4 separate regions of the Homo sapiens genome follow, and all the other regions are linked to region 3. The links are contacts of gene promoters, found by promoter capture Hi-C in blood cells and fetal thymus (Javierre and others, 2016). All regions are on one chromosome and are shown on one strand. The core of a region is centred on a gene start or on the middle of the fragment in contact, and the rest is flanking DNA. Distances in the headings are between cores, read along the strand shown.

What was found. Contacts are between HindIII fragments. The CHiCAGO score rates a contact against its expected background, and 5 or more counts as called.
Region 1: a fragment that was not itself captured here is called in contact with the fragment with the promoter of LINC02313 in region 3 in 4 of 17 cell types (megakaryocytes, M0 macrophages, M1 macrophages and 1 more); the score reaches 7.2 in megakaryocytes.
Region 2: a contact is called between a fragment that was not itself captured here and the fragment with the promoter of LINC02313 in region 3, in 1 of 17 cell types (M0 macrophages). The highest score is 5.2, in M0 macrophages.
Region 4: a contact is called between a fragment that was not itself captured here and the fragment with the promoter of LINC02313 in region 3, in 1 of 17 cell types (M0 macrophages). The highest score is 6.0, in M0 macrophages.

The regions. Positions count from the first base shown.
Region 1 is chr14:32,471,810-32,477,985 of GRCh38, reverse strand. The region is part of intron 2 of AKAP6 (A-kinase anchoring protein 6); the gene reads right to left. Among named protein-coding and RNA genes, the nearest start is that of AKAP6, 150 kb to the right of the region's middle. The HindIII fragment of the contact is 265 bases long and covers 2,464-2,728 here.
Region 2 is chr14:32,495,136-32,501,533 of GRCh38, reverse strand. The region is part of intron 2 of AKAP6 (A-kinase anchoring protein 6); the gene reads right to left. Among named protein-coding and RNA genes, the nearest start is that of AKAP6, 170 kb to the right of the region's middle. The HindIII fragment of the contact is 5,027 bases long and covers 1,586-6,398 here.
Region 3 is chr14:31,940,554-31,946,834 of GRCh38, reverse strand. It overlaps LINC02313 (long intergenic non-protein coding RNA 2313), which reads right to left and starts at 1,982. Exons shown (of 2, transcript NR_146544.1): 1 at 1,727-1,982. RefSeq lists an enhancer at 1,501-2,700. The HindIII fragment of the contact is 3,310 bases long and covers 1,140-4,449 here.
Region 4 is chr14:32,551,574-32,558,436 of GRCh38, reverse strand. All of the region lies in intron 4 of AKAP6 (A-kinase anchoring protein 6), which reads right to left. Among named protein-coding and RNA genes, the nearest start is that of AKAP6, 230 kb to the right of the region's middle. The HindIII fragment of the contact is 6,899 bases long and covers 1-5,690 here.

The DNA.
Region 1 (6,176 bases), core at 1,347-3,846, 530 kb before region 3:
ATATTTATAAAGTGCTCACTATGGCCAGGCATCATTTTAAGCAATTTCACAAATACTATCTAACTTAAGGCTCATTGCACCTCCATGAGGTAGATGCTATTATCATGACCATCATTTTACAGAAGAAGAAAATGAGGCACAGTGAGCTGCTTTATGTAACCCTGTAAGAAATGGAGCTGGAATCTGAACCCAGACAGTTGGGCCCCAAGAATCAACTCTCTTAACCTCCATTCTAAATTGCCTCTCAGCTGTAGCAAGATTGCTATAAAGAAAAATGCTTCATTACTGAAAAGATCTGGCTAAATATGATTTTTGGAACCAAAGTAATAAATATGCCAGAAGGCATTTTTGCAAGTCGGTGATACAACACCGTCTTGAAATTGCAGCACTAAATTCATTTGTTAGGACAGACATTCACATACATATAACAGCCAAGTTGCCTAAGAGTTGAGCTCCAACCTGCCAGCCTCAGCCACTGCTTGGGAGAACTGCGAACCCCAATCTCAGCTTTCCTCTTCAGTTGCTTCTATGTATAAGATGGACCCAGGACCCCTCTTAAGGGCCTGCTATCCTCTCTCCCACACCCCTTCAACACCGCCAGGCATGGAAATAAAGGAAGATCTGGAGCTCCTTCAATGGAAATTCCAGGCACCTAGCTAGCCCTGAGAAGTAAATGAGCAACTTGGTAAGCAAGAAGGTAGCAGTAGCTTAAAACAATAGCCAAGGAAGTTAGGGTCATGAGATGTTCCCTGTAGAAATTAAAGATAACATCTTAATGTGAGTTGTTTTTCAGAAACCCAGACCCCTTCCAAATGGATCCACTGGCATGTAGACCTCAGATAAAAGGGAACTGAGGACTGAACTCTGACTGCTGTTCTTTGTTCTAAATTTCTTCCTGAGGAGCCTGGAAGAGGTCATACCCATGAGCCAGAGCTAACTTTCTTTTCTGCTGATCACAAATTTTTAGATAAAGCTTCATCTCCTTAACCAATTGCAAATCAGGAAACCTTTGAATCTATCTATGACTTGTAAGACCCCGCTTTAAGATATCCCACCTCTTTAGGCCAAACCAATGTATAACCTCTGTGTATTGATTGATGACTTTGCCTATAACCTCTGCCTCCTCACCTTTAAAAGGCCTTACTTGTAAGCCACTGTGGAGGCTGGGTCTTAAGTGTGAGCTGCTGATTCTCCTTGCTTGGCATCCTGCTATAAATGCTTCACTTTCTCTTGCAGCAATCCCTATGTCAGTATTTGGCTTTGCTACACCAGGCAAGGGGATCCCAGTTTAGTTTGGTAACACTTACGGAAAATCCCTCCCTATTATTTTAGCACTGTGATTCAGAAAGATCTTCAACTTGCGGCCCGGTGTCTGAAGGTTTTAATCTTTATCTGACACAAGTCAAATATGACTAGATAAAATTCGATGGGAAACAGGGCTAAAATCCAGTAGGAGACTTGCATTCTATACAAAAATCTTATTGCAATATATCTTTGAGGATAATGCACACAAGGAAAGTTCAACTTAAACCTCTTCCAGATCCTACTTCGCTGTTTACTTATGTCCAAGTAGGGTCTGAGATGACTTTGGGGGCTTCCAAATAAGGAGGCACTATGCATTTCTCCCCAAGCCTCTCAACTCAGTAAGGAAGTGCTTCTATATAGATCCATCCTCCTTGCCTAGCCTTCTATGGATAAAGATTTTTAAAACTAATCATTATAAAAACTTTAAGAGCATGAGGTCAGAATTTTTGTCACTTGTGTTTACTGCTATGCCAAGAATAGTTTGACATATGGTAGGCATTAAATATTTGTTGAATTGATAAATATAAGGTCCTAGAAAATATATCACAAAAATATGTTTAAGAACAATATATTGTTTATTTCTGCATATAAACATGAAAATTTAAAGGTACCAAATAGATAATAATTATAATATTATACAAGTACTGCTAGTTAAAAATGTACTTAAAACATTTTTATGAGTAGTTAAAAGAGCTGAAGGCCAGGCGCAGTGGCTCACGCCTGTAATCCCAGCACTTTGGGAGGCCGAGGCGGGCGGATCATGAGGTCAGGAGATCGAGACCATCCTGGCTAACATGGTGAAACCCCTTCTCTACTAAAAAAAAAATACAAAAAAATTAGCCGGGCGTGGTGGCGGGCGCCTGTAGTCCCAGCTACTTGGGAGGCTGTGGCAGGAGAATGGCATGAACCCAGGAGACGGAGCTTGCAGTGAGCAGAGATAAGCCACTGCACTCCAGCCTGGGTGACACAGCGAGACTCCGTCTCAAAAAAAAAAAAAAAAAAGAGCTGAAAATGATTTCTGTCTGCAGACTCTGCTCATCAGATTAAGATGTAAGGATGCAGGTGAGCAGGTTGGTTGCATGCCAGTGCTGCAAAGAGAAGCTGGTTTTGCTCGATCTTCCACATTGACAGAATTCATAGCATGCCTTTTTGGAAGCTTTGCTCTGCATAGAATTGTCAATATGCACCTGCCATCAGTCCTTCAAGACATCTTGCCCAAAATATCACCTTTAAAATAAGAACCCACAACAAAAACTAACATTCACTAAAAAGGATTAATGGAGGGGATGCCTGAATCAGCTGTAGCCAATGTGAAGGTAGAATGGTGTTGTAAATAAGAGAGCAGAAGGCTTTAGAGATGCCCTGAACATCAGCCTTAGCATTATTATTATAATAACAACTGTGGGTCTTTGGAAGAGAAGCTTAACCTCTGTGCCTCAGTTTCCTGTGTTGTGTGTCAGGACTAGGACCCACATCACAGGATAAGGACAAAACATGATAGTGCATGCAAAGTATCTGACATATAGTAAGCGCTGAACAAAGGTTCACTGTGATTATTATACATCCATAAACCATTGAAAGTAAATTATAGACGAGTACTACACTGAGATGTACATTCCTTTGTATAAGGAATGTTCATCAGGCTGTAGCTCTACGTATGTATTTCCAGAGAGAACATTTAAAGAAATATACTTCCTGTGTCTCAAAAGTACAAAACTGAGAACAAATGTGCTACAGCTGTGGAAGTGAACATATGTACACCTCTCCCAAATGAATGGTAGGTTAGAATTTTCATCCGTTTTGCCAAGAAATTCATATAATTCCTATTCTCCAAAGCAAATAGCAAATAAACAAATTTATAGAAATTTAACAGAGAAATCTGGAATCAGAACAAATTTTGGAAAATGAGTGAAGTGCAAATATCAAACAATTTCTAAAATAAATGCAGGACCAAATGAACTGGAAACATATTCCATGAAGGAAACTTAAATCCTCATCCCCCTTGGGGAAAAGTGCTAGTTTCCTGCAAGATTCAATCCCTATTTCTTTAATGTGTGTGAACTATAAGCCAGCCCCACCTGGAATTTAGTTTGATTACAAATAAGTTTGTCAGATTGTTTACCTTGAAATCTTTCTTCTCTCCTAAAGAATTCTAAGAATGGTACTCGCAGTCACTCAGCTTTTTCATCAGAGAACTTGCTTGTATACAGATGTTGAACCATGTGAGACTACCATTCAATTGCCTTTGACCCACAAAAACAGCAATTTCATATGGTTCACTTATTCTACGTTGGATGGAAGTGGTCTAGGAAGATTTGAGGGGTTAAGGAAGTGGCTCCATAAAGAGAAGATATTTATTCCTTGTTAATGAATTTCACCTCCTCCAAGTTGTTGTGTCACAAAACGAAACACGTGTTGAGGAAGTAGAATCGCTTCATGTGGAAAGAATTAAATTCTCTTAGCATTGATGAAAAAAGACAGTGGGCTGGGCACCGTGGCTCACACCTGTAATCCCAGCACTTTGGGAGGCCGAGGCGGGTGGATCACCTGAGATCAGGAGTTTGAGACCAGCCTGGCCAACATAGTGAAACCCCGTTTCTACCAAAAATACAAAAATTAGCCAGGCACGGTGGTGCATGCCTGTAATCCCAGCTACTTGAGAGGCTGAGGCAGGAGAATCGCTTGAACCCAGGAGGTGGAGGCTGCAGTGAGCTGAGATCGTGCCACCGCACTCCAGCCTGGGTGACAGAGATCCTGTCCCAAAAAAAGAAAAAGAAAAAGAAAAAAAGACAGTGATGCTCACATTGAGAACAGCAGCAGATCCATGACCCAGCTGTATGAGGTGTCAAGGAAGTGTAACTATTAACCAAACGAAGAAAACAGTGGTGTCCTGCCCAATGTGCTGGGATGAAAGCCACATATGTGGTGGATGAACAAGTTATTCTGAGAAACAAGACCAGGCAGTTACCTACCATCTAAAGCACTAGAATGTCAGTCCCCCCGCACCTCCCGGTAATCCACACCCCTTCAAATGAACCTTGTCCTGGCAGGTTTACTAGAGTTGCAAAATGCTTGGATCTGCAGGAATGCAAGCAGCAAGCACCTCACCCCACTAATTTGGCATTTCAAGCTCTTCTTCCTTTCTCTCTTTCTGCTTTGGAATTTTCATTAGAGTATGACATTTGACTCATTCTGAGAGCAAACATTATATTTTCTGGCTTTTCTAATTTGAAAAACAGATGGTCTCCTCACTGGCCCTAGGGAAAAAAGAAAAACTTGTTTTAACAATTTCATCTGGCTTCTACTTCTCATTTTCTAGTTTTCAAACATGTAATTCTATTATTACCTGTTGTATGTGAGGCTGTGGGCAGCCTCTGAAGTAGTAGGCTTCCTGCACAGCACTATGTCTGAGGGCCACACCTCATTCTCTCCCATCTTCACTGCAGTCCCCATCCCCATTGCCCACAAAAAGCAAAGTAAAAAATAACTCTAAATTATCATCTATGTTATAAGTATTGCTTCAAAACTTGTGATAAGAAAGCTGTAGGTCAGTCTTAGAGAAAATACAAAAACACAGAAACTGTTTTTCACATTATAGCTCCAACATTCCACAGGGATTTATATTTAGGCAAATATGTGTGTTTGGGTGAGCTTCTGGGCTCAACTTTAATCATTCTGAGAGAGAAAGAATCCAACCAGTTTAAACTAGATTTTCACTCTTTGTAACCCATGTGGCATTCCAAACATTTCTAAGCATTAGGATTACATCATTTTCTCTTTTTTTTTCCTTTAATACAAACAGCCATTATATTCTATTTTCACGACCTTTAAGTTCCCAATATCAAATTACCCAGCTGTTGTTTCAATCTCTCTTAGTTGCTAAGAGATGGTGATGGTGGCAGACCAGACCGATTTTCTTCAACATAGAATTGCAAGCTGACATAAGAGGGAACTAAATTCAGCCAGAGCACAATGAGCCCAACAGTTGGCAGCCAGGCTGTGTGTCTTTTCCCAGCTGCAGGAGACAGTTGGTGCAGAGAACCTCGTTGCCATCTCCCTGCCAACATCACTGCCATGTTTTCATGCATTCTCCACAATGCCTCTCAGCAAAGAGGGGCATTGCCATTTGCATTACAGGGATCAGTCTGCTGTAATATCGCCTCTCCTAGAATTAAGTTCTGTGGCTAAAGACCATGATCTTTTCTGGGTCAAGCCATTCTTTAGTAATAATAGAGAAAACACTTCTATTGAATGCGGTGGACAGCATTTATACTTGCCCTCCTCCTACCCCACCTTATGATCAAGACACTTATTTACCCCACCTGCTAAGCAGTGTTGACTGCTTATTGCTCTCAGCTGAGACCCTCCCTGGGACTTGCCCTCAGCTGCCTCACCCAAGGTCATGCCCTTCCCTGGGAGCTTTCCACATCCCATGTCTGCTAAATGGGAGGAGGTATAAAGCCTGGGGGAAAAGGGGAGCCACTTTAGAGTTCTGGGTAGGAATACTGCCATCTCTGTCACAGCTGCAGTTCAACTCCTCTCTCTGGTTGATTTACTTCCCTCACCTCTCAGAGGTGCTTTTCCCAAGAACTCACCCCAATAAACCTCCAGCATGTAGATCTCAGAGCCTCAGAATCCGATTCCTGGGAACCCAAACTATGACAAAAAGTAAATTCTCAAACCTCTCTTTTATCTTAAGGAACAATCCACTAGGTTTCTGTGTGCTGAAGTCTGAAAGAAATCTCATAGGGACTATTTTTCTTGGTTTACTCACAATTGTGCCAGCACAAAAATCCTGACCCAGAATGCTTAACACGCTGCGTTATCTGTGCTTCCTTAGCACAGATAACACAGTGTCCAGTGTCTTATTA
Region 2 (6,398 bases), core at 2,850-5,349, 550 kb before region 3:
TTAGTTAGATCAGGTCATATGGACTAAATACTGGCCAATGGAACGTGGGTAGAAGTGATATACTTTGGTGCCAGGTTGAATCCTTAAAACTTCCTTTGAGATATTTTATGTACTCTCTTTTCCTTGTCTGCTGACTGGATTCTGAAGATCGAGGATTCTGAGGTCCTAGAAAAATGAACCTCTAGATCTGTACTGTCCAATGTGGTAGCACTTGAAATGTTTTTGCTAGTCCAAATTGAGATGTATTCTAAGTATAAGATACACACTGGATTTCAAAAACTTTGTGTGCAAAAAAGAATTTGAAATTGTTTATTAATAATTTTATATTAATTACATGTTAAAACAATATTTTGGACAAATTGGGTTAAATAAGAGATATTAAAATTTATTGTGTTTTTACTTTCTTGATTTAGAAAATTTAAAAATCGCAAGTATGATTCATTTGTGGCTTCTACTGTATTTTTATTGGACAGGGTTGCTTAGGAGGGAAGGAACCTCAGTCCTTGAATAACTGATAGAGCAGAGCTTTCCAAATACTTTGGTGTGCCACAGGCTAGAATGCACTTGCAATGGGAAACTTCAGGGCTTGACCTTTGTTCTTTAAGAGTCCATTTGAAGGTTCCCTGTATACATACCTGCCCCAGTTAAGGTAAAGGAAAAAGGAACTTGTTTATACCAAGTCAGGATAAAGGGAATGGGGGAAGGTATCTTATGATATGGTGGTGACTATGACCATCATACCTGTAGACACTAGAAACATCTGGCATAACTAGCAAAGAAAAAGAGAAAAGGTTGGGAGACACAAAGATCAGTCAAGAATACACAGCCCTTTTGATACAGACTTTTCCCCATATATGGTAATTAAGACTAAAGTACAGAACTTCTCAGGGAAGCTTCTGTACTCAAATCTTCACCATTCTAAGTAGTATTAGCACCTACACTGGCAACACCATACCAATTCTGGGTAGATATGCTGCATGAACACAACTTCAACCATTGGCACCTATGCATCCCATATAGTAAGTGTGCCCTCCTTCCAACCAGGGACTCTGGGGAAGTATGCTCAGCGTCACAGAGTGACAGAAGTATAGGAAGTGATCATTGGTTCACTATTGTATTATCCCTCTGTCCTTGTAATAAGAATCACATTCAGACATAATGCAATATTCATTTTAAGCTAGATGTCAATAAATAATCTTATCAAGTAAATACTTCATGGCAATCTGCCAAATGAACAGGTCATGGGTTATGTGTGGGTAACTACTTCTCTACAAAGCACATTCAAGTATTTTGTTAGCAAGATCATTGCTTAAAATAATCTGTTTATATTTCCTGCTGATAACTTCATGGATCATGCTGATGAAACATGTTAAGTGAGTTTTCCTTCCCTCTTCTCGTCTCTCTTTTCTTGAAAGTAAAGACCTAGTCTAACTGGATAAAGTACAAAGATCCTGGAAAAAAGAATCAAAATCTGAGTTTTGGGTGTTTCTTAGACATATCAATTACAATTAGATTTTTATAGATAAGAGCTAAATATAGATATATTGTTTTGGTACATACAAATACAAATTCTTACTGCAAAGCTTTAGTTTTTTTAATCAGGTACATATGTACATATTTAACAAGTTCTATTCCTAATAATAGGTCTTTGGTATGAATGAGTATTCATCAACTAAAATTGTCAGAGTTTTAGGTTAAAAACCATGTAACAAACTAATACTGTGTCTAATCTCGCTCTCTTTTTAAGTGATTAATGATTGAAAAATTAAACATGTAAAATATATATTAATAATATTCAGTATCATTTTTAGTTTTATAATACATACCAATGATAAGATTAATAAATATTATGTAAATATCTCAACCATCATGTAATATATTAATAGTGATATTTAATATTATTATTACAGTGTCAAAAATGTTATCCAAGTTCTATTCTGAGCAACAATAACACTGCTTTGTATTATCTACCATATTTATCTTCTAAACAGTGTAAATTATAATACAGAAAGATCTGTCTACATAAGACTAAAATCAAACATCATCCAAAACTGAAGGAGGGAGCAGAACAACTTTCCTAATTGTATAAAAAATGACAGCCCAGGCTGGGCACAGTAGCTCATGCTTATTATCCCAGAACTTTGGGAGGCTTAAAAATTAAAATTCCTTCTTCCACTCTTTCTCTCTTTTTTTTTTTTTTTTTTTGCTGTTACACTTATTTTTTATCATGTGTTTTAAGTTTTTGTGTTGTGAAATATAGCTTGATAAAAGTTGATAAATCATAACAAATAATCATAAGGTGAACACATGTGTAACCACTACTCTGATAAAGAAATTGAACATTGCTAACAGCCAAGATGCTTCACTTTCTTCAGGTAATACCCAGTTCATGAAAGGGCTGAACAACAGCTCCAATTTTTTCCTATATCCTCCATGGTACCAGGGGCAAATATTCATTCATTTATTTGTTCAACAAATATTTACTGAGTGCCAACAATGTGTGAGTACTCCACTAGGTAGTATGTGCTACATAGAGTATGGAAAGCAAAGGAAGGGTTCCAGTAAAACCCCAGACATGGACCAAAAAAAAAAAATTATTGAAGGTATGCTGATTACAAGGTAAGTGAAGTTTCTCAATGAATGGAACAAAGTATAGATTACAAATTAATTGCTACCTTTTTGGACATATGTAAATGAAGTTAAATTGTTTTTGGCTCTTACACCTTGAGAGATCTTGTGAGGCCAAGGGATGTCCTCTTACACCCTCCCGCCCACTTACCCCTCTGCCACATGATATCTTGAGTGCACCAGAACTGGGAATAGTTCTCGCTCCCTGACTACAGTAGTTTCTTAAGGGCAAGACCAAGTAGTGTTGCTCATCCTCGAATTCCCAATGGCTGACCTACAGGAAAGCCTCAATTAAAAAAAGCAAACAAACTGGTGGATTAATGAACAAATATTTGCTACATAAAATAGTCAATATCTAAAATAAAAGTTTTAAGGCCAATATCTAAAATAAGTTCTGTTGTGGAATTTTCCCTTAATATAAAGAAGTCATGCCTTAAGATGTTGATATACATATTGATATATTTGATTACTAAATAGTGCTTAGAATTCTAAGTGTTAAAGATTATTTTAATTTTTAAGGTATCTATAGAAGCTAGAGTTTCATATGAATGACTGGAAAAAAATGGCTCCTGCACCTAACTCAGGAGACATTAATTGTTATATATTCAGGACTGATATTCAGCCAGCATGCACCAGTGAAGCCATACCTTTTATATCTGGCACTCATTCTAATTGGCCAGTGCTCATTTCATGCTAAATGTTAAGTATATGAAAATCTTGCATTATGTGGGCTGTAAAATGACAGTCACATGACAATGGAGGAGGAAGGACTATAAAAGCCATAACATTGTAGAAATGGAATTGTAGAAGGACGACTGAAAACTATCAGTGAATTCTACTTATACCTTGATTAATCGAATAAGTATTTTAATAAATTAGTTTCACAGTTTTTACATAAATACCTTAGATTGAAACTCCCTAAAAAAGAAAAGACTTTCAAAGAAAGCTGAAATGGCTATATTGACATGAGAAAAAGTAAATTTCAGAGCAAAGACTATAACCAAGGATAAAAAGGATCATTTTATAATGATAAAGGGATGAGTTCATCAAGGAGCACAACAATCCTAAATGTTAATTCACCTAATGAGACAGCTTCAAAATACATATAGCAAAAACTGAAAGAACTTCAAGGAGAAACAGACAAATTCACAATTTTAATTGGAGATTTTAATGCCCCTCTTTCAAAAATTGATTGGAAAAAAATATATATATATATAAAATCACTAAGGGCATAGAGAGAAGATGTGAACAACACTAGCAACCAACTTGACCTAGTGCCATTTTAGGTAAATTAGGAGAGTCAACCAAAACAGTAGAATACTTTCTTTTCTACTAAAACAGTAGAATACATTCTTTTCAAGTGTCTATGGAACATTTCCCAAGATAGACTATGATCATAAAATGAGTCTCAATAAATTTTAAAAGATTCAACTTATAAAAAGTATGTTCTCTGACCACAACTGAATTATAGAAAGACTTTTGGAAAATCCCCAAATACTTAGAAAAGAAATAATGCACTTCTAAATACTCCATGAGTCAAGAAAGTCAAAATGTAAATGAGAAAGCATTTTAAATGAATGAAAACAAACATACAACATGAGATTCTCACTAAAAGCAGGACTTAGGAGATAATTTATAGCACCAAACACCTATATAAACATGAGGAAAGGTTTCAAATCAATGACTTCAGATTTCACTCTAGAAAAGGAAAAAGAACACTAAGATACTATGCATAGAGAGACCCTAACACTGTGACACACATTCGATTACTGGCAAGCTATCCAGAGGATGAACTTTCTCAAAGATAACCCCCAAATCCTGCTAAATATCAACTCCCAGCCATTGAGGATGTATGCCCACGGTCTCCGGATCTCAAAAACACCGTAGGCAGCACTTGGCAGAAACATAAGTTCTTTTTAAGAGACCAAACAAAGAAGTTAAGAATTAAAAGAAGGACATAACACATGCATACTGGATTTATTCACAGGAAGTAACTCTGGATGATCTACTTTTTAACTAGACAGCTCTCATACTTCAATTATAAGAATATATTTGGTTCATACGACTACTGTTGGGCACTTAAGGCTAACCTTTCATTAATATGAGTTAATGTTCATTAAATAACTAGGTTGAGCCATACAAAATTGCCATTTTTATAGGTCAAAAATTGTCAAATATTGGCAATTTCATATGGTTCAAGCTAATAATTCCTGAGGCTGCAATACATTAACAATATGTTAGATGGGTAATAATACTGCAGCTTTTCAAGTATATTAGTGACATTAATATACAAACAGTAGGAAAATATTCTTTTCAACTTTTTTTTTTTAATCTCAAGTCTCAGACCATGACCCTTCTCTCCAGAAAATCTTTCTCCACCGAAGGCACAATTTAACATCCAATATATCAATAGGCCACTCCCAAATCCCCTTAGACATCCTTCTAAGGACCCCCAAGGGCTTCATGTGATCATATAATATACATATATATACACATGTACATATACATGTACATCTGTGTGTATACTTCAAGATCATAAAAATGCAGTTTTTGTTCCTGAGAAACTTATCCAAAGTTATGCACCATCAGTGAATCTCAATTTAAGAACCTGACATGCAAAAAAGAACCATCAAAGCATAAATTTAGTTGTAACTCTCTATTCATTTTATACATAGATTCCTTAAAAGTGATCAGCTTTCCAAGTATGTGTTAAGTCATTCTAATTACAAAACCTGATTTACATGTTTTAGGAATATGTCTGTCATGTGACATGAGGTATAAGTTTGAATAAATGCTGGATTAAATAACCTAATCAGGTAGAAGTCCCAAAGCATCATTTACAGCATTCACATACTTATTATACAGCATTTGTATACTTACTTTATGTGCCAGATACTTGAAGCCAAAACTAAATTTGATACTTTATAATACAGGTCAACATTGGGGTAAGAAGAACAACAATATTGCAGCAATTTATGTTACTTACACTGATACGGGCACAAACAGTAGTTTAACTGAGTTTATTTGGAAAAGAGTAGTGTTGATTTTCATCTTACTCTTCAAATAAAACCCAGACCCTATTAAGCAGTTTAAAAAAATAAGAAAACCATATGTTCTGGAATATACTAACAGGCTTAACATTTTCTCCCACTGTTTCCCACAAACACAAAAGCCTGCCTTTTGGAACAAGAATAAGGAAAATAAAACAGAAAAGAGGAAGGTAAATTTTAAAGATGCATTTTACCACGCGCCAGATAAGTCGCACTTTGTGTGAATGCTCTCAGCCTCCCTTATGTCCTAGAATTTAAGTGAACTTGGGTAACAACAATACGAAGACGTTCATTTGGCATACTGTCTAGTTAGGGAGTGAAGCAGTGTCCACTAACATAAACGTGCTATGTGCAGGAGAGAGGCTTGAGATTCTCATGCCCAACTCTGAAACTGAACAGTTTAATGACTTCTGTCAGTCTTATAAGGAATGCCAGATAAACAACAGCCTACCTGAACTGCACAGCAAGAGGTCCAAAATGTGGTGTGGTCCTAAACAGGCTGCTGTCACTTCATGTCCCTCAGCCAAGCCATTCGCTTCTGTCAGCTACTCCACCACCAACCAACAGGTTGAAAGCAGAGCAGAGAAAGCCCAGATCTTGTAACTCAAGTCGATTTGGTTTTTCATCAGCTGTCTCTAGTTAACCAGCTTTACAAACAGAATCTAAAACATAACATATGACTTTCTTTCCATACCTGAACACTTAAGGTCTAACTGCCTA
Region 3 (6,281 bases), core at 733-3,232:
TGAAGTTACATAAGTGACTCACCCTTGTGCCCTGTATTATATTCTCACTGGACAGAGCTGATCTGTAGCCCCAGACTGTTTCAGACCATGCCTTACCCCACCAACCAGGGTCCAGCTGCTGGGGCTCAGCTCTATCCTAGCTTGGGTCTCTGCACAGTGGCAGCTTTGGTGACCAATATACTCTGTAACTGCTGTAATTTAGGGGTGTCCCTGACTCTGAAGCCAACTGCAGAGGTTGAGAATAAGAAATAACTACATTTTCATGCATTCACTCACATTTCTCCTCCCAACCCACCACTCTAACTGTCTTTCTTTTAGCACAACTGTTGTAAATACATGATCCCCAGAACAGCAGCATCGCATCACCTGGGAACTCATTAGAAATGCAGATTACCAGGTACCATCCAGAAACTCTGAATCAGAAACTGTGCCCAGCAATCTATGCTTTAACAAGACCCTCCCCACGAGGACATTATTCTGATGAATTCTAATGTTTGAGAACCAGGGTCTTAGGGCACTGTTTCTGAAACTTTGTAGTGTATTAAAATCATGTGGGGTGCTTTAAAAAATTCCAATGCCCAGGCCACACCCCAGGTCAAGTAAATCAGGTTCTGTGGGGGTAGAACCCAGGCATCGGATGGATGTTTGGAAAACTCTCCACTGATTCCAATGTGCAGTCACAGTTGAGCCCCATTGCCTAAGGGTAAAGAACTCAAGAATATTAGTCGGCCATTTTCCCTATGGTGGAGAGCCTGTAGCTTTGAGCCCCGTAGAGAGAAGCCTTCCTGTGGGAGGAGAAAACAGTGTGTAAAATGAAGAAAGGGGCCAAACTGGGCATGCCTAAGCTTCGAAGGCCTCTTTCATTATAGGCTAGCTGCTGTAATGAAACAGGCAATTGCACCTGAGATTTTTCTGAAGTTGAAATGACCACGTGGAAAGGGAACAGCTTCTCTCCACAGTCCATCAAGAGGGGAGTGGCCAATGGGCCGCTTGGAGGACAAAGACCAGGGACACGCCCATTATCTGAGGCTTCAGGTATATTAAAATGAAGAAATCCCCAAATAGGGTTTCAAAAATTGTGATATACTATATTTTAGAAGTTTACATTTAATAAATTAAGGCTTTAACACGTGTAAGCTTTAAAAAAAAAACGCACAGGGTAATATAACCATCCTATTCACGGGATAATGGCAGGATTAATCTTAAAAATTCATGGGCCTGGTACCAAAATCAGGCATAAGTTTAAAGCTGATGATCATTTCCATCTTTTCAGTCTTATTAGCATATCTTCAGAGATAAATTTTTAAAAATCCAAATGTGAAGTCTCTGTGAGTGTGAGATCCCTGGATGAAAGGCCCTCCTTTGCCATGCCCCTGGGGCAGACTAAGAGGACCGCTGGAAAGAGATCCTAAGTGTGGCCCTGGAGCAGCTGTGAATGATTAGGTTGTGGGAAGACAACTGACATCTGGGTGCCTTGCGGCAGCCTGACCAGGGAGGTGGTGTCAGGGAAGCCAGAGCACCCCCCTTCCTCAGTGTGTTCCAGAGCAGTACAATACCTGCCTCCCTACACATAATGGATGCCTGCCCACCACCCTCTGTCCTCAGGCACACTTGGCTGCTGACAACAGGAAGTGAAACAGCCACACCCTCCTTTGACCCTATTAAGGTAACTCCTAGTTTGATACAGAGGCTTCCGGGGAGGGAAAGAAATAAGGGAGACACTTACCTTGTGCAGCACCTGCAGTGCTGTTGGTTTATAAAAGCACGAAATCTTCTGTCCCAGAGGCTGGACTGGGCTCATGACTGCATGTGAGATTGTGCTTTGGGAAGAGAAAGCAATCCCAGACTGAACAACAATTTTCTGGTGGCAGGTGCATCCATGAGGAGCTGCAGTCGGTCCCAGCAGCATATGCTTTCTCCTCTGGGAGGGCAACTCGGAGACGTGCAGACTAACGGGACCACTGGCTGCAAGCCTCAGAAACCTCTCAGGAGGTCCCTGGCAAGGCCTGTGGTATCTGGGCAGTGCAGGCAGCCTGGGCACCATAGGACAAAGGGGCGGGGAGTGGGGCAGGGAAGAAACAGCACAGAGGAAACAGCACACCTTGTTCTCATTGACTCGGAGTCAATGGCTGCCCACAGACTCTATTTCCTGGAGATTCAAGCCTCACACTGTCCTGTCCTCTCCCCTGAGTAAGTCTTCCAGAGAGTAAGAGCCACACCCAGGCAGAGGTGGGTGAGGCTGGGGTTCAAAGTACAGAGCCAGCCCTTTTATCTCATAGGCAGAGGAAATCATCCACTGTAAACCCACAGCGTCCTCCACCAGGGCAGCGTTTGATTCCTCCGTCTCATATCTCCGCTTGCCTTCCCTGTGGGTCAGTAGTTCCTGAGTTTCTCTAGCCTATAGAAAACATGAGGAGGAGGAGGAGAGATGGAGGGGGAGGAGGAGGAGAAGAGAAGGGAAGAATGAGCACATGGACTGCCCAGCCCCAGCCCCATGGCACCAGCATGGTAAACACTTGGAGGGAGGCCAGCCGTCTGGCGCCTCCAGTCTTCCACATCACCCCAGCCAAGATTCAGACCTGTATATTCTGGGCTCTTTCTGCCCCATTTCACCCAGGCTTTAAATTACCCAGACTTGGGTCTGGGTTATTCTATCCAAAACTTTCCTCTGAAATCTAGATTGTGATGCAATGTATACGTTCTCTAAATCAGATTTCTGAGGACTAAATGCCAGACCGCGTGGCGTAGCAGTCTGGCTGCAAACCATTTCCGTCAGCCCAGCGGAGGAACGCACAACAAGGTGCTCATCCCCGCAGCCGTGCACAGGAGACAGCAACGGTCCAGGTAAATTAGAAAGGCCTAACTTGAGCCAGCTAGTCATGGCAATTTAGGGAAAGTAAGGACTACACAGAGGCTCTGGGACGGCTTGCGGAATCAATGCCTAAGTTGCTGGATTGCTCCTTCTTTGGCTATGGAGCTAGTGGTTCCAAAATCTACCCCTTGATTCCTTAAGATGGAAGACCATTTAGACAAGCTGAGCCAAAACCCAGAGTCTTGGAACAAGCCTGTAACAATAATAGCAGCAGTAATGACAATGATTTTTAATATTCCTTGCTTAACAAGTGCTGGCCACAGTTCATGTTTTACATGGATTTACTTGGGGAATTTGATCGCTGGATCGAGGTGAGGACCATCCTCACTCCTCAGCTCCCCGGAGGACAGTCCCTTCCCCTCTGCTAGTCCTTTGACACAGACCCATTTTGACTTTTCAACTTCAACATTCTAGTTCAAGTCTTGGCCAGCTGTCAGCCTGGGCTTGTTTCTTCTCATCACAAGAAAAGAAACAGGGCTGCGAAGAGTAGCAAGCCCCTGACTGCTGCCCTTAAATGAGCTAGCCTTTAGGAGAAACACCCGAAGGTCAGGAGGCAAGCACTGTTTGCTCATGGCTATTGTTCCTCTGGGGAGCTGTGAGGGTGGGGTGAGTGGGGGAGGGTCTCTCATTTTGTGACTACACAGTATATAAAAAGCTGAAATGAAAATAATTCAGAAATTATTGTTGTCTTTATAAAACAACCTGTTCTGGGGTACCTTTCTGTACTTCCCTAAGTATATTTAAAACACAATTTTAAAATTCAATTTAACAAAGCCCCATCAAGACACATGCACTGCATCGTGCACATCTGTATAAATGCTCTTAAAGTGCAGGTTTGCATGAACCTTATTTTTCTAGAGGAGTGTGTCCTCTTGGGGAAAGAGGGAAAGAAGGCAGTAAAAATAGCATCGTGTCGCTGCTGACTGTGCATTGGCCACACAGCTAAGCACAGAGTGCCTAGAGAGCTTTGGCAGGATCATCACATGTTGTCCTCACAACAGACCCATGAGGGAGGTATCTCATCCCAATTTACAGATGAAGAAACTGAGGCTCAGGAAGATCAAGTGACGTCTTCATTATCACACAGCCATTAAGAGCTGAGCTTGGTGGGAACTCAGGCTTCCGCGACTCTAAAGACTAGAACTACAGACAAGCTGCAAAGCAAGATCAGGTCAAGATATTCTCCAAAGTTATATCCCGTGGCTCCTCAGTTACAGATGTGATTGCAGAATCCTGCCACTTCTTTTCTTTTTGGTCTCCTTGTTTTCTCAATCCAGTCAGAATGAATTTTAGATGTGTCCCAAGTGCAGTCTGCCTTCAGCCGCCGAGCCACTCAGACACTTGGAGCTAGCCCAAGTAGCCCAAGTAGTAGGTCTGTGAATAAACGTCACTTCTGGAATCATTCTTCAACAAGTACAACTTGACTAGAGAGACTCAAATACCTGCACTGGTCCCAAAGAGCCATCACCCAGTGCTGCCAAGTCTGACCAAGATGCATCCTAGCTAAGGAACCAGTCACACCACTGGCTCTCACGCCATGCCTGAGAGGAGCACAACAGGAGTTTCTCCAGGAAGCTTCCCAACGTTCAGATGAGTTGCTCTCCATGTGGATTCAGCATCCTGACGAGCTGACACCAATTCCAGGCCTGGCATGTCTAACAAATGCAGCATTCAAGCCCAAGACACTGAAATTGTTACCTCATGTTATAAAGGACCTGAAGCTGCATGCAATTAGCACTGCATCTGTGAGACTTGGGAAAGACAACTGAGAGAACAGGGTCTTAAAAAGACTATTTTGGTCCATATGGAAAATTGGTGTGTTGCATGCATGGTAAAATCCTTTCAGATATATTTTTAAACCTTATGTTTTTAAAACTGGGGACTTAAATATTATTATAGGAAAAGCAGCATGATTCCTTTAACATCAGAAGGAGATCTGTAAGTTAAAAAACTGTTGGAACCTTGTAAAGAAATTAACATTGTGAATGAACTCAGGCATTAGTGCAAATTAATCAAACTGCATACATTATAATTTTTAATCAGTCATGGAATTTCAATACTTGAAGGGACCTTGGAAATCATCTGTCCCAAGAGCAAGAATTATGGAAGATAAATGGGCAGGTGGAGAAAAACCTCCTGGCTAGAGAAAGGCACAGAAAAAACAAAGAGTTGGGAGACAGCATGCACAGTGGTTTGAAAGCTCAGGGATTTGCACACACAGCCTGGGTTCGAAGCTCAGCTTTGCTTTTTGATGGCAGTATGAACCAGGCTGAGTTGTTTGACCCTCCTATGTGACAGTTTATAAACAAAAGGTTATTCTGAGTCTTAAGAGAGACCATCCATAGAAAGGGCTTAGTATGGTCCCTGGGATACCATATGGTGCCTGGGACATCAGTGCTGAGTAAATATTAGCTCTATAGAAAAAGGAATTTTACAAACATAATCTGAGTGAGCCAGACTGACACACTATGTATAACTGTGGTCTTTCTCTTTTATTTGGCTATGAAAGAAAAGCAAAATGCAGTATATTGAAGCATTCAGATTTCTGACCATGAGAACAGGACATAATACCCAAGGTCTTTTTTGGAATAAAAAATGATCTTCATAAAAGGGAATCACATTTCAGCTGTAAATAAAGTCAGACCTAATAATCAAGAAAAGAGGGCCCCATGGAGATGGTGAATCACGTATATGAGTAGGTGAAAGCTGCCTCCAAAGGTCTTGATGCAAAGCTGTCCAAGGTTTAGAACTCTGGGCACATTTCTGGCCAAAAGAGGTTCAAAATCATCATCCATGGTGTTCTGTTCTAGTCTTAAGATGGAACTAGTGCTGCATTAAGTGTCTGATTGGGAAAAGTTAATGGTTAACAAATAAGATATAACTCTCTGGGACATCTTGATATAAATTTAGTTTAGCCTTATAGTATAACAATTATTAATTATGCTGAGGGAGGGAACATAGATTGGTGGAAAACTTGTAGGCTCTGGAATAGAACAAATCCTAGAACTGTCAATTGGTACTGTGAGATCTTAAACAAGAGATACAATGTCTTCAACCTCAGTTTCCTCATAGTTGCCATGAAGGGCCAGCACAGTGCTTGCCACACAGCTGGTACCCAAGAGGCATTCATTTTCTCTTTGCATTCATTCTACATTTGTTATATTAAACAGCTCTATTTTTTTTAATTTAAATAGGTTTTTGGGGAACAGGTGGTGTTTGGTTACAAGAATAAGTTCTTTAGTAATGATTTCTGAGATTTTGGTGTACCCATCACCTGAGCAGAGGGGGTGGGAGGGGGTGAGGGATAAACAGCTCTATTTTTGGGTGGAAGAAGAGGGCTATACTTGTTTGACTCAGTTTCCAATACAGATAGGAAGCCCAGCAGTTCAGACCAACACTAAGAATAGAC
Region 4 (6,863 bases), core at 992-3,491, 610 kb before region 3:
ACATTTGTATTATCTTCTTTTTTCTGTTCTCCCACTGCATGAATTTTCCCTTGGCACTTACCAAATATTGTCTTATGTAACAGACACAGAGCCTTGAATTATGTTGCCATATCTACCTCAAGTACTACATCCAGGACCTAAAACAAAATTTTAGATTGTGCATCATAAAAATTAAAAAGTATTCAGAGTTTCTACAGTATTAAACTTCTATACTTTTTGTTTAATAATTATGTGCACTGTCAACTCATGTTCAATCTGTGATCCTTTAGGATTCTTGAATCTTCTCATTTTAATTACAAAACTGAACCTACCCAATTCTTTAAGAATCTGGCTTTTTCCTTGGTATTTAACTAAATCCTAGTTTTCTTTATTCTTGTATCTAAACAATTCCTTGACTTTTTGGATACATATTTCAAAGATTCAGAAATGCACTGAAAAGATCAAGGGCTCCAGTTTGAATGGTAATGAAGAGACAACTCATAGTGTCATCATATTTGGAATCTGAAAGTCTCTAGGACAACACTAGAGGAAGAAAGTAGAAGATACTCTCAAGGAAGGAAAGTTAAAAAAAAATGGGTGACAGAGAGTGAAAACTAGATCCAGAAGAAAAGTAAAGAAAAGCAATGGGAAAGAAGATAAAAGGAAGAGAGAATACAGAGACAAGAGGAGGACTAGCAACTGTGAATGAAAAAGTTAGCATAAGGGAAAGGCACATGCAAAATGGAATGCCAGTGAAGAAAAGTGGAATTCCATAGCCTCAAGACGCTTCCTGATAAGGATACTCATAAGAGATCATTATCAACATCCAAGTAGTGTAGAGCACACTACCACTCCATCAACACTAGGAACACTGGTGCATGGTGGGTATAAAAGAAACATCAAAGGCAAGTAAGAATTGAATTTATAGCAGAATCGTGATTGCAAGTTACTCTGTGGGTGAATAAAAAAGGATACAGCTGTGTTTCAAATGGGACTTATTTGAATCTCAAATCCAGTAAATAATGGCTAGACAGGACTTTTTTTAAAAGAGTAGGCTATAATGGGCCATGCGGCGGCTCCTGTCCATAATCCCAGCACTTTAGGAGGCCAAGATGGAGGATGGCTTGAGCCAAGGAGTTCGACACCAGCCTGGGCACATGGTGAAATGTTGTCTCTACAAAAAATACTAAAATTAATATGAAAATTATCCAGGCATGATGGTGTGTACCTGTAGTCCCAGCTACTGGGTAGGCTGAGGTGGGAAGATCAACTAAGCTCCAGGAGGTGGAGACTTGACGTGAGCTATCATCACGCCACCACATTCCAGCCTGGATGACAGAGTGAGACCCTGTCTCAAAAAACAAAAACAAACCAACAAGAACAAAAAAAGGGCTCTCAAAAGTATTTTTTTTTTCCAAGACAAATTCCAGAAGATGACTTGGTCTTAGCCTTGTAGCTGTGTCTTATCCTAAAAGAAAGCCAAGAGTGAGACCCTTAAAATATGGGTGGGAACTACATTGAAATTTAAAAAAAAAAGAGAGAGAGAGAACTCAAAGACCTAAACATAAGACCCAAAATGATAAACCTCCTGGAAGAAAACACTGAGGAAAAACTTCATGATGTTGGGCTTGGCAGTGAATTCTCGGTTATGGCACCAAAACCACAGGCAACAAAAGCAAAGATAGATAAATGAAACTACATCAAACTTAAAAACTTGATGCATCAAAGGACACCACCAACAGAGTAAATAGGCTACAGAATGGGAGAAAATAATTTGCAAATCATACATATAATAAGGTGTTAATAGTCAGAATGGGCTAGGTGCGGGGGCTTATGCCTGCAATCCCAGCACTTTGGGAGGTTGAGGCAGGTGGATTGCTTGAGCCCAGGAGTTTGAGACCAGCCTGGGCAACAGAGTAAAACCCTGCCTCTACAAAAAATGCAAAAATTAGCCAGGTGTGGTGGCGCATGCCTGTAGTCCCAGCTACTCAGGAGACTGAGGCAGGTGGATCGATTGAGCCTGGGAGGTCAAGGCCACAGTGAGCTGTGATCATGCCACTGCACTCCAGGCTAGGTGACAGAGCAAGACCCTGTCTCAATTAAAAAAACAAAAAAAGAATATATAACGAACTCCTACAACTGAACAACAAAACTCAAATAACGCTATTAAAATATGGGTAATGGATGTGACATTTCTCCAAAGATGATATACAAATAGCCAACAAGTATATGGAAAGATGCTGAACATCATTATTCATCAGAGAAGTGGAAATCAAAACCACAATGATCTATCACCTTACACCCACTACAATGGCTACTATTTTTGTTTAAAAAAACCTAGAAAGTAACAAGTATTGGCAAGGATGTGGGGAAACTGGAACTCTGTACTCTGTTGGTGGGATTGTAAAATGGTGTAACTACTTTGAAAAATAGCATGGAGATTCCTCAAAAAATATACATGATCCTCAAAAAAAAAAAACATCCAGCAATCCAATTTTTGGGTATATACCCAAAAGAACTGAAAGCAGGGTCTTGAAGAGATAATTGTACACCCATGTTCACAGCAGCATTATTCACAATAGCCAAAGGTGGAAGCAACCCAGATTGTCCACTGGCAGATGAATGGATAAACAAAATGTTGAATAAACACATAATAGAATATTATTCAGCCCTAAAAAGGAAAGAAATCCTGTCACATGCTACAACATGGATGAACCTTAAGGACATGCTAAGTCAAACAAGCCAGTCACAAAAAGAAAAATACTATATGATTCCACTTAGAGGAGATACTTAGAACAGTCAAAATTATGGAGATAGAAAGTAGAATGTTGGTTACCCGAGGACAGCAGGGAGAGGGAAAGGGGAGTTGTTATTTAATGGGTATAGAGTTTCAGGTTTGCAAGATGAAAACGTTCTGGAGATCTGTTTTACAACCATGCAAATATTCTTAAACTGTGCACTTAAAAAATGGTTAAGATAGCACATTTTGTTATATCATATTTTTACCACAATAAAGAAAACTCAGAAGGACATGATACTTCTTAATGGCTGCTATCATCAGTATGAATGCTAGGATGCGTTCCTCTGGACCCATTCTACCTCTTGGAAAAGAAATGTAAAAATGAGTGCCAAGTTAATCTCGGGGGAAAAACTTCTCTACCTTCATTATACACAGGTACTAACCACCACTTCCCAGCTCCATCTCTAGCAAGTGCAATGGTAGCCACATTTGTGCTGCTACCACAAAACTGGGAGCATACTTGATTGCAATTTTACAGTCTAGTTACAAAGAGGAAGAACTCAGCTAAATATTTGCTGCCATGAGTCCAAGATAACTTATGTGCAAGGACATCCTTAGCTGGCACCGAAGAAGTTTGTTAAATTAGATTATAGATGTCTCTAGGACAAAATACAACAGCTAAGTCATTGAACTATAATCAAGATGCTCTAATTTGGCATATGAAGACATTTACATCTCTTGTGGACAAACAGGCTCAGCTATGTCATGCATCCATCGATTCTGTATCACTGAGTCCAACTTGACTAAGTCGTATCTTCCAGGACAAGTTTTGAGAATTTAATGGCAGCAGGAAGCCCAAAATGTGAGAGGCGGACCATGCGCTATATCCCAAAGGACAGATCTCCTGAAATGCTTCACTGAGATGGCATACCCTGTGCTGCTTTCTGTCAGCTCCCATAGGAATTATACAGCTGTTAACCCAGCATCAATAATTACCCACCTTATACAAGTGGCTACTTACCAACCAGTTCATCTCTCTTCAGGTCATGAGGAAGAAGTCACACTGTTCATTTACTAATCTAGTAGTGGTCTGTGGGCTTCATAAATCGATTTTATTTGCATATGTGATTATTGTCTAAATTCCCTGGCATTTGACTATATCTCATGGAGAAAACCAAGTTAGCTCTGGCATCCCAGCTGGAATACCAGCTCTCACACTTTGCAGCATTATGACCCTGAGCAAGTCATTTGCATTTAAGCCTGGAGTCCTCATCTGTAAAATGAGACCAATAACAGCTCTTCCATATGCTTGTTATATAAATTAAATGAAAGAATCTACTTCAGATCCTGGCACACAGTAGATGCTGATCAGAAATTATCTCCCTCTCTTCTTCCTTACTCAAGAGCAGGGGTCAGCAAATTTGTTCTGTAAAAGGCAAGAGAGTAAATCTTTAATCTTTTTAGGCCACATGGTCTCTGTCACAACTATTCAACTCTGTCACTGAAATACAAAAGCAGCCACAGACAAACACCATGGCTGAGTTCCAATAAAATAATATTTTAAAAAGCAGGTATTGGGCCACATTTGGCTCACAGGCCATAATTTGCCAATCCCTATTACTTATACCACATATGTCCAGGTATCATGCTAAGTTAATTTTTCACCATTCTGTTTGATTTCATCTGTTCCAGATATATTCTTCCCTTTTATCTCCTTATTGCTTTTATTCTATTTCTTGAATGTATCGGAACAAATGTGTCTGTTTCCATTACTTGACTTCGCTTCTGGCTTTGAATTTTAGGCCTTGAGAAGTTCCCGTAGGTGTTGAGCACTCAGACCTAAGATGCTCTAGTAATTTATTCACACAATGGGTTCTGGGTAAATCAGCCAGAGTTAAGCAAAATCCCCTCAACCCTCAGAAAAAGATTGGGAACAGACCATCCCTTGGGAACTCAGAGTTTACTAGGAGTTTTTATTTGTGGAAAGGGAATGGTTACAACTGATTCCCCAGTTTTAAAAATATTGCCTTAAAATTTTTGTTTTCATTGGCTTATATATGTAAAGGCCTTCTTAAAAAATATGTAAGTACTAAAAACAATAGTGATCACATATGGTGAAGTGAGAATTCAAGATGGAGTGATAAGGATGAGAGGGGGATTTACTGAGTATTTTTAAATGTCTATGATTTAAAACCATGTGAATATATTATCCAAAAATCAATTTTCCCAAAGAATAAAGAAATCTTGGCCAGGCGCGGTGGCTCACGCCTGTAATCACAGCACTTCGGGAGGCCAAGGCAAGTGGATCACAAGGTCAGAAGTTCGAGACCAGTCTGGCCAACGTGATGAAACCCCGTTTCTACTAAAAAAAATACAAAAATTAGCTGGGCATGGTGGTGGGTGCCTGTAATCCCAGCTACTGGGGAGGCTGAGGCAGGAGAATGGCTTGAACCCAGGAGACCCAGGAGGCGGAGGTGCAGTGAGCTGAGACCGTGCCACTGCACTCCAGCCTGGGTGACAGAGCAAGACTCCATCTCAAAAAAAAAAAAAGAAAAGAAAAAAGAAAAGAAAAAGAAAAAAAGAATCTTTTGTTTTACAAAATTAGTCTATTATAAGAAAGATACAAATGTGAGGGGTGGGGACTGACAGGAACCTACTGGAGATTCTATCACAGCCCCACACTCTCTTGCAGTTACTGGGCTTCTATGTGCCTCCTGCCTTCTGCTCTGTGTGACTCAGAGAAGACAGAGTGGAGGACTCTGCCATGATGAGTTAATGGACTCCACTTTCCATTTGACAGAAGTGGAATTAGAAGCAGGATATATTTTTCAGTATTTTATCATTCTTGATACCAGGCCATAATTCTCCCTATGAGTTCCACATACCCTCCCTTCTTTCTCAGTGTGTCCACATTTACATAGTCTTTCTAGCTACTTCAATCTCTCTTGCCACTTCTGCCTTCAAATAAGCTTCAATTTTTTAAAAAAGACTTTTGACTTTACTTTCAACTACTGCCCTTTGCCTCATATTGTGTTTTCAATACAATTCCAGGAAATATTAGGAATGATTGTTTTTTACTTCTTAATCACCTATATCTACTTTCACTCCTTCATTAAGTCTGTTTTTTTCCTAAGGTCTTCATTAATTATTTCAAACAAATCTAAAGGTTGTTGGGTTTTTTCCCCTTAGTCTTTATTATTCTTGATCTATCTTTTGCAAAGAACAAAGCTAATGTCCATTTTATTTAGTATCTCTTTCTCTCTCTCCATGTATTTAATACCCAAGAATTCTTTCTGTCCCTTCTGATCCCCACAACTGGATCTCTTCCTTGTTCCTGTCTCATAACTGAGCTACAACTTGAATCTCAGACATCAGTCCCTCTGCTTTTCTCCATCTAGTCTCCTTCTTTTAGGGAATTCATCTATTCCCAAGTCTTTATCTTGTGGGAGGAATAAAACAGATGGTGGCCTGAAGCCTGGCTCTGTAACTTATTAGCTGTGCTGCATAGGAAAAATTGTTCGTTCATCTTTCTAAACTCAGTTTCCTCTGTTCTAAAATGGGGATTCAGTCATTCAGTAGTCTTTATCGAGCAATTACTGTACACCAGGCATTGTTCTAGGTACATGAGATTCATTAACAAACTAAACAGATAAATATTCCTGCCCTCACAGAGTTCCCATTCTAACAGAGGGAGACAGACCAAAAATAATAAATATACTACATTAGAAAATTATATAAAATTACAGAATGTAGGCCGGGCGTGGTGGCTCACGCCTATAATCCCAGCACTTTGGGAGGCCGAGGCCGGCGGATCACAAGGTCAGGAGATAGAGACCATCCTGGCTCTCACGGTGAAACCCCATCTCTACTAAAAAAAAAAAATACAAAAAATTAGCCGGGTGTGGTGGCAGGCACCTGTAGTCCCAGCTACCTCAGAAGGCAGAGGCAGGAGAATGGCGTGAACCTGGGAGGCGGAGCTTGCAGTGAGCCGAGATCGTGCCACTGCACTCCAGCCTGGGCGACAGAGCAAGACTCCATCTCAACAAACAAACAAACAAACAAACAAACAAACAAAAATTACAGAATGTGGTGAGATCTGTAAAAGAAAGAAAAGGTCAGATTACACCTTTTTTTTTTTTTTTTT